2 separate regions of the Homo sapiens genome follow, and region 2 is linked to region 1. The links are contacts of gene promoters, found by promoter capture Hi-C in blood cells and fetal thymus (Javierre and others, 2016). All regions are on one chromosome and are shown on one strand. The core of a region is centred on a gene start or on the middle of the fragment in contact, and the rest is flanking DNA. Distances in the headings are between cores, read along the strand shown. Region 1 holds the start of ADAM19 (ADAM metallopeptidase domain 19). Region 2 overlaps LOC105377675 (a long non-coding RNA gene).

Region 1 (4,424 bases), core at 1,295-3,794:
ATCCTATGCCTTTCCCACCACATTGTATTTGGAAGCTGAGAGGAATTTTGCCTCAGGATGAAACAAACTTCAAGTCTCACCCATATCTAATACAGATGAAATTTAGATGACACTTCAGACTTGGAATTAATGCTGGAATGAGTGAAGACATTTGGGCTGCTGGGATGGGGTGGATATATTCTGCACGCGAGAAGTGTGAAAGGAAAATAAATCTTAGGACTCCCAAATCACTAAGCCAAGGAAAAAGTCAAGCTGGGAACAATGTCAGGCAAACCTGTCCCCCATTTTATTCTTTTCTTCTTTTTTTTTTTTTTTTTGAAATAGAGTCTCACTCTGTCGCCCAGGCTGGAGTGCAGTGGCGTGATCTTGGCTCACTGCAACCTCCCCTTCCGAGGTTTAAGCGATCTCCTGCCTCAGCCTCCTGAGTAGCTGGGATTACAGGTGTGCCACCACGCCTGGCTAATTTTTTTTGTATTTTTAGTAGAGACAGGGTTTCGCCACATTGGTCAGACTGGTCTCGAATTCCTGACCTCAGGTGATCTGCCCGCCTTGGCCTCCCAAAGTGCTGGGATTACAGGCCTAAGCCACAATGCCAGGCCACCATCCTATTCTTAAATAAGATAGCTACAAAGAGAAACAGCTACATACCTTCCTCACAATTTTCACACAAGGAAATTCCTTGTGGACAAAGGACAGACAGAATTTAAAGCCATCCCTCTGAGGCTCACCGGAAACAAATGCATATCTGATTGCTTCTTCTGCCCTATTGTTTATGTAAAAATGTAGATTCACTGAGCTAGACTAAATTGTGTATTCAGTGGAAGGTTGATCAAGGACTCAAAAGAATGTAACCTCTTCTGTTTCTTATCTACTTATAACCTGGAAGCACCACCCTTTCTGCAGCTTGGAGTTGTCTTGCCTTACCGGACCGGAAGCAATGTACATCCTACACATATTGATTGATGTCTCATGTCTCCCCAAAATATATAAAAGGAGGCTACACCCCCACCACCCTGGGCACATGTTGGGACCTCCTGAGGCTGTGTCATGAGCACGTTCTTAAGCTTGGCAAAATTAACCTTCTAAATTGACTGAGACCTATCTCAGATATTTCGGGTTCACAGAAAGATACGAATTTTACAGCAGCTGGAGACTAACGGAGTCCCAAACGACATTAATGGCCAGAACCACTTATTTGATTTCCCTCATGGGTGCCCATGAGTAGGGTTTGATAGACCTACCTACCCATCATCTTCAGGAGTGCCTCGCCCTCTCCAACACTTAGCACTTCTCTAGTCAACCTGGGTTTGACTAAAGAGGCTCAGAAAAAGGAACAGATGGACGAGGTTTGAGGCTGGGATTCTACAACGAGGCTTTGCTAAAACTTGCTGAGGGATCTTAGGCAAGTCATTTCTCTCTCATTATCAGTTTCTCCACCTGGAAAATAAGGTGTGTTGCATCAGGCTCTGGAGTTATACGGATGTGGGTTTGAATCTAGGCACTGACATTAGCTGTGTAATCTTGGGCAAGTGGTTTAGCCTCTCAGGTTTGATTTCCTCATTTCTAAAACAGGGATAGTACTAGTACCTACCCCATGGGATTACTGGGCTAATGAAAAGAGATAATGTATGCAGAGTCCCTGGCTCATAAAAGTTATTTTCTCCGATTAATTAAATAAGTGAATATGTGTAAAGTGCTGAAGACAGCGTTTGACACTTAGCGTTTTATCAGTCTTAGCTATCATGATTTTCTTATTCTAGTACATAGAAAGTCCTCAATAAGTAACAGTAGTTATTATTATTTTTGGTCACATGTCCCTGTGTTTCCCTCCAAAACCCTAACCATCCCCAATTCTGGTTTTCTCCCCGCATGCAGCCCAAGGGTTTTCACGTCCCAGTGCGATTGTCTGGGCTGTTTCCTCCGCCTGATGTTCCATTTCTCCTCCTCCCGATCTCAGATGGCTTCTCCTCTGGGATTCCTCTGGTCTTCATCACTCCCTCCTCCCAGGCAGAAGGAATGGCTCCTGGATTTGTGTCCTGCTTAAAAAAAAAAAAAAAAAAAAAAAAAAAAAAAAAAAAAGAAGTCCATATAGCACTTAGTTCTTTGTGCCTGGCGGTTGGGTTAACTCTTTCTGAGCCTGTCTCCGAGAGTGGCGGCCCCCGGGGGACGGCGCTGGGTGAATCACCTCTGAGTGTCACCCAAGGCGTCTGGCACAGTGCGGGACAGTAAACGGGCCGCTGTGCGGAGAGGGGTCCAGTTTAACTCCTAGAAGCCCGAGTCCCCGACCCTCTACAGGCCGCGTCCACCACAAATCCCTCCTCCTGGGGGGCTCGGATTCTCCCTTCCCCGCGGTCTCCCTCACCTGAGCCAGCCCCGCTCCCCCGAGTCTCGCCAGCTCCTCCCCGGCCCCTCCCTCCAGCCCCCTCCGGGCTGGAGCCTCCCCTCCTCCATCCCCTGGCGGAGGCCCGCGGGGCTGGAGGCGGAGCGTCTCGGCAGAGGGCTGGGAGCCGGGTGGGGAGGCGCGGGGCGAGCCGGGGGGTTCCAGACGCGCCTCCACCGCCGGGCAGTGGGCAGGTATGGCTGAGGGCGTGTGAGCGCCGAGCGCTAAGGGCCGCCGCCACCATGCCAGGGGGCGCAGGCGCCGCCCGGCTCTGCTTGCTGGCGTTTGCCCTGCAGCCCCTCCGGCCGCGGGCGGCGCGGGAGCCTGGATGGACAAGTAAGTGGCCAGGCGCGGGGGGATGGAGGCTGGGTGGCCCGGAGACCTGGGAGTAGCCTTGCGGGTCCGGAGCGCTGGGACCGCGACCCCTGCGCCTCCCGCAACTCCGCGGGGCCTGCGCCCCCGCCGTCCCCAGCCTGGGAGCCCGGGCTTTGTTCCCACGTTCTGCGCCCTGGGAGGTGGCAGAGGTCGGGGAAACCCGGCGCAGCCAGAAAACAGCCGGTCCGCTCACTGGCTAGCCTTCCCTTCTCGCCTTCTCCTTCCTCTGTTTTTCTGCTTTTGGCTTCTCTTTCCGCCGTTCTCGGGGCTTATCCTCCTCCGTTTTCTCACGGTCCCTCGTGTCCGCTCCGCCTCTCTCTCTGTCTTTCTCTCTACCGCCCGCTGCACTCGCCAACGCCGAGCATCCCGAGCGCCCTGCCCGTGTGGCCTGGGAGCGGCTTCCTGGGACCAGGCTCGGTGCCTGCCACACTGGTGGGGTAGGACATAAAATGCCCGCGGCAGACTGTGGTAGCCTTGGCTAGGGGATGGCTCGCTGGGTATCTGCAGCCACACACTTCGGATCCCCGAGCTGGCAGGAGCCCTACTGAAGGCCAAGTCAAACGCACCCATTTCACAGATGGGGAAACCGAGGCCCACAAAAGGGAAAGGACTTGCCCAAGGCCACGCCACGGGTTGAGGTCCGCGGTGGCACTGGAAACCAGGGCTCTCTTTCCACGCCAACCCGACGGCCGCCTTCTTTGGTCCTCAGTTTCCCCTTCTGTGAAGCGAAGGGGTCTGACTCGATGTTTCCAGCTAAGATGCCGGGTGATGTCCGTGTTTCTCAGGACTAGTTTCCCAGACACCAATCCCCTCCCCGGCTCCATCCCTCGGGGGCTATAAGCAGATTTCGCGGAAGGCTTGGTCCCGGGGGGCGGTGCCCGGGTTCTCTCATTATGACCGGAGAAGGCTTAGCCCTGGCTCCACCGCTGCAGACGGGCTGGGCTGACTCCAGACTGCTGCTTGGGGGACCAACAGTCAGCGTTTTCAAATAGAGCGAGCACCGGCGGAGCGAGGGTGGGCTGGCTGGACCCCCGGGCCGCCTCAAACCCAGAGGCTGAGAGCTCTTCCGACAGTTCGGAACTTCCAGGGGCCGAGGTCGGGCGGTCCTCCCAAAGGGCTCAAAGGAACCGCCCTTTGAGCTGTTGTTCCGAAGGGGAAACTGAGGCACAGAGGAGGTTCTAGGGTAGCACCAGGCCTGTGTCAGTGCTTAGTGCAGGAGAAAAGCATGAAGAAAGACAAGGAAAGCTAGTTACTGCTCCTAGCACAGGCGCCTTCTCTGAGTTTTGAGTCCTTGGAGAACACTTGCTGTAGAATATCTGGGAAATAACGAAAAGTGTAAAAGAAAATGATCTGCAACCCCCAAATCCACAGTTGCTGTTGATATTTTGTTTTTTTTCCCCTCCACATTCTTTGTGTGTTCCTATGGATATATATTGATAAAATTGGAACCATACCCATAAGTACAGTTTCGTGTCTTGCGTTTTTCACTTCACACCATGAGCGTTTTCCACATCATCAAATTCTCTGTAAAACATGATTTTAATGACTCTATACAAAGTTTTCAAAAGTTAAAAACACGACTCATACAAATGTGGCCAAGATTTATTCAACTCATTAATGAGGTAGCAAACAGGAGAGTAAAGCTGATTCAGGGAGCATTAGAAAGGGG
Region 2 (4,491 bases), core at 1,602-4,101, 83 kb before region 1:
AAAAGTTCCAGCCAGTGCAATAAGGTAAGAAAATAAAAATACAAAAATCAACATACAACCAACTGCAAAGGAAATTTTAAAAAATTACATTCACAAATAGCATAAAAAGAATAAAGGATTTAGAAATAAAGTTAATGAAAGAAGTACAGGACAGTACACTGAAAATTATAAAACATTGTCAAAGGAAATTAAGACCTAAATAAATGGAGATATGTCCCATGTTTGCAAATAGGAAAATACAGTATCATCAAGGTGTCAGTTTTCCCAAAATTGATCCATAGATTCAATATAATTTCTATCTAAATACCATTAGGGTTTGCTTTAAAAGAAATTGATATGATGAACCTAAAATTTATCTTTTAAATCCAAAGGACCAAGAAAAGCCAATATGATTTAATGAAAGAACAAAGTTCAAGGACTTACATGATTTCAAAATTTCAAAATTTACCATAAAGCTAGAGTAATCAAGACTGTGGTACTGGCATAAAAATATGTATATAGCTTGGCACGGTGACTCATGCCTATAATCCAGCCTGGGTAACAGAGTAAGAACCCCATTTGTAACAAAAGAAAAAAAAAGAGATACTGTAAACCAAAAATAAAATTCTAAATTCCCCAACCAATGAAATGGACCCCTCCTTTTGGCCAAGGGTATATTTTTTATATTTTATTATTTTATTTTATATTTTATTTTATTTTACTTTACTTTATTTTATTTTATTTTATTTTATATTTTTGAGACAGAGTCTCACTCTGTTGCCCAGGCTGGAGTGCACTGGTGCAGTCTCAGCTCACTGCAACCTCTGCTTCCTGAACTCAAGCAATTCTCCAGCCTCGGCCTCCCGAGTAGCTAGGACTACAGGCACAGGCCATCACACCTGGCTAATTTTTGTATTGTTTTGTAGAGACGAGATTTTGCCACGTTGCCCATGTCGGTCTAAAATTCTTGGACTCAAGCAATACTTTTGCCTCAGCCTTCCAAAGTGCTGGGAATGCAGGCATGAACAACTGCACCAGGCTAGGGCATTTTAAAGTAAACCTAAAACACTAGCTCAGGCTACAATGGGAATGGGTGGTCAGACATGCCTCATTAAACATTCCTCCCGTTGGAATTCAGGCACAGCTGACCAGCATTAACATAGAAACAGCGACTTTCAGACTGACAGAATAGACTTTTTAGGTCTGATATTCTCTGAAGCCTACTATCTGGAGGCTTTATCTGCATAATAAGAACCTTGGTATCCACAACCCCATATCTTAACCCAGACACTCCCTTCTGTTGATTCTAGGTCTTTAGATAAGTCTTTCAACCAATTGCCATTCAGAAAATCTTTGAATCCACCTGTGATCTGGAAGCCCTGATTTGAGTTGTCACACCTCTCTGGACTGAAGCTATGTACATCTTACAGTATTGAATGATGTCCTATGTCTCCCTAAAATGTATAAAAGCAAGCTGTAGCCTGACCACCTTGGTGACATGTTGTCAGGACTTCTTGAGGCTGTGTCACGGGGATGTCCTTAACCTTGGCAAAATAAACTTCTAAATTGATTAAGGCTTGCCTCAGATACTTTTGGTTTATAGTACATAGATGGAAGGAATGGAAGGAACAGAACAGAGAGTTCAGAAATACACCCATGCATCTATTGTCAATTACATTTTGATAACTGAAATCAGAATATGAACTGAAACCTTGCACAAAATTAACACTAACTTTCTTATTGGACCCCACCACTTACCCAAAGTTAGCCTTTGAGTTGGGGGTTTCCACAGTATAGTGGGACCATTCCATGGTCACCAGAAAGACGTTACAGGATCCTAGCACTTACTGGGAATATCTGCACTATAGGCTCATCTGGGTCACCAGAAAGATGTTACAGGAAAGGGGTCCAGGTCCAGAACCCAAGAGAAGGTTCTTGGATCTCACACAAGAAAGAATTCAGGATGAGTCCACAGAGTAAAGTGAAAGCACGTTTAAGAAAGTAAAGCAATAAAAGAATGGCTACTCCATAGACAGAGTGCTGGTTGCCCATTTTTATGGTTAGTACTTGATGATATGCTAAACAAGGGGTGAATTATTCATGCATCCCTTTTTAGACCATATAGGGTAATGTCCTGATGTTGCCATGGCATCTGTAAACTATCATGGCACTGGTGGGAGTGTAGCAGTGAGGATGATAAGAAGTGACTCTTGTCACCATCTAGGTTTTGGTGGGTTTTAGCCAGCTTCTTTACTGCAACCTGTTTTATCTGCAAGCTGTTTATGACCTGTATTTTATGCCAGCCTCCTATCTCATCCTGTGACTTAGAATGCCTTAACTGTCTGGGAATGCAGCCTAGTAGGTTTCAGCCTCGTTTTACACAGCTTCTACTCAAAATGGAGTTGCTCTGGTTCACACGCCTGACATTACCCCCTCCCTTTTATAATCCTAAAGGTTTGTATAATTTTAATCCTAAGGGTTGCAGAGGGTTGAAAATCCATCTTCTGTAACTTCTTCATGCTGAATAGGAGCAATGATATTCTTGCTTAACTATGAGAGTCTCTTGTATTCAGGGTAGAGAGGAGCTCAGTCAGAAAGCATCAGTATGGCGAGGGCAATTCATAACTCCGAGTTTTGACAAAAGGTGATATCTGGAAGATTCATAAGTGTGCTCAGAATTAGAATACTGATTTAGATTTTTACATTACCCATCCCTCTTGTTTCTTCTGAGCAGCAGTCAGATGTCACTAGTTGGTTCAGAGGAATAAGCAGGGTTAGCCTAAATTGCAGAAACAAACTTAAAAACAACTGATGAGACTAGAATTTAATAACAAGTGTACCACAGTTTCTGAAACATAATTTCTCTCTCCAGTTTCCCATTTTTACTAAAGACAAATCACGGTAAGACTGATTTGCTTTACTATAATTGGCCTGATTAGTTGTATAAAGTGCAATGAGAATAATTATTTTTTACATAACCACTTTTTAAATTGGTTTTGATGCAACTTTATTCCATAGAAAGAATCTCAGATAAGACTTTTTCAGAGCTGAGCCCTGCCATAGGTTTGTACCCTCAAATACCTATGAGATGAGTAAATTCCCCTCCTCTTGGGGTCCCAAGATAACCTGGGGATCCTGGACCTGTAGAAAGTGACATTCTTTACTTACCACAGGTCAGAAACCCTGTACAGGGGCTGTTGTAGACAAGGTCTGAGGCCAATTCCCCAAGGGGCTTTTATTGGCTTTACAAGTCAAGTTTGATTCCTTAAAGGAAAACGTGCCATTCCAGTCAAAGCGTTGGTAAAATAACCACTGTTTCCAATTGTGTCCTGTTGCAAAAGAAAAGAGGTTCTTATTGCACTTATGCAAATAACTATATTGCCATAATGTAAGAATACTCACAAATAGTTTCCACATTCTGGAGAAATTAGGTAGAGAGAACTAAATATGCTTCAAATGTTATTCACAGCAATATACTTTACTCAATTGCTACAAGCTGCAAATAGCTCAAAAGATAAGTTTCCTTGACTCTGAAAAACAAAACAAAGGATCAGCAGCATTTTAAGCAAAGTTAAAATGATTACTTTAGTCTTCTATTAGTTCAGTCAATGCAGTTAACTTCTGTTCTGCTTGATATTCCTGAACATTTCAGCTCTCCATGAGTATTCTGAAAGTGTTTTCCTTTATTTTAATATCACAATTTCCAAAGTTATCAGAAATCTGCATTTAAGAACACCTGTTAGAGTTCTACAGTTGATTATAAACCAACTTTTGAAGAGGATTAAAAGACAACAATTGTGTGTGGATGACAAAAAGTCTTAGGACAGCCACTATTAAAGTCTCAATTGATAAGGAAATTTGCTTCCTTCTGTGGTATACAATGATTTTATGTAACAATTATAATTATTCACAATATACACCAAGTCATATCAGAATTATAAGACTTTTAAAAATAATTTTCAATATATACCAATAATACATTTATACAATTACAGCCCCCAAAAATCCAAACACCATTTTACATTTGATAATGCTTCCTGTGTGGTTTTTGTACCAAATAAGCCAAATGTGACTCTTGCATTAGTGCATTATTGATGACAAACCCAATTCTTTATAAAACCTTATAGACAAATGTATTCAATCTTAATCAGTTTGACTATAAGGTAAGATTCTCACAAACCTTTTATAACCCTTTACATATTTTTGTTAAAGAGCAAATCATAGCAGGTTTTTGCTCTAAAAAAACTTGTGCTTTTATTCCAATGTTTAATTTATAGAAAAACTGAATACCCCTTTAACTTTAACTAATATATTCACACACAGAATGTCCTACAATTAATTTTTCACACTTTCCAAAACTTTCTTAAACCTTCAGCTTCATTCTATCTAACTTAAAACAATAATTTAACCATTTAATCTAAGGAAGAAAATTTACATTCTCATGACTTCTAATGATCTTTTACCAAAAACACATTTCACTTTCCTTACACACCTTATGTGTAGAACTATTCT

What was found. Contacts are between HindIII fragments. The CHiCAGO score rates a contact against its expected background, and 5 or more counts as called.
Region 2: a fragment that was not itself captured here is called in contact with the fragment with the promoter of ADAM19 in region 1 in 4 of 17 cell types (naive B cells, total B cells, activated CD4 T cells and 1 more); the score reaches 8.7 in naive B cells.

What each region holds. Positions count from the first base shown.
Region 1 is chr5:157,573,895-157,578,318 of GRCh38, reverse strand. It overlaps ADAM19 (ADAM metallopeptidase domain 19), which reads left to right and starts at 2,544. Exons shown (of 23, transcript NM_033274.5): 1 at 2,544-2,716. The coding sequence starts at 2,623. LOC124901121 (a long non-coding RNA gene) reads right to left here and starts at 3,340. Exons shown (of 2, transcript XR_007059018.1): 1 at 2,949-3,340; 2 at 1,709-2,039. RefSeq lists enhancers at 1-529, 530-1,145, 3,003-3,082, 3,319-3,848 and a silencer at 2,393-2,832. The HindIII fragment of the contact is 8,826 bases long and covers 1,067-4,424 here.
Region 2 is chr5:157,656,668-157,661,158 of GRCh38, reverse strand. LOC105377675 (a long non-coding RNA gene) reads right to left here. Exons shown (of 3, transcript XR_941127.3): 2 at 3,148-3,308; 3 at 1-2,630. It also overlaps a transcript of SOX30 not described here. Among named protein-coding and RNA genes, the nearest start is that of SOX30, 6.5 kb to the right of the region's middle. The HindIII fragment of the contact is 8,214 bases long and covers 1-4,491 here.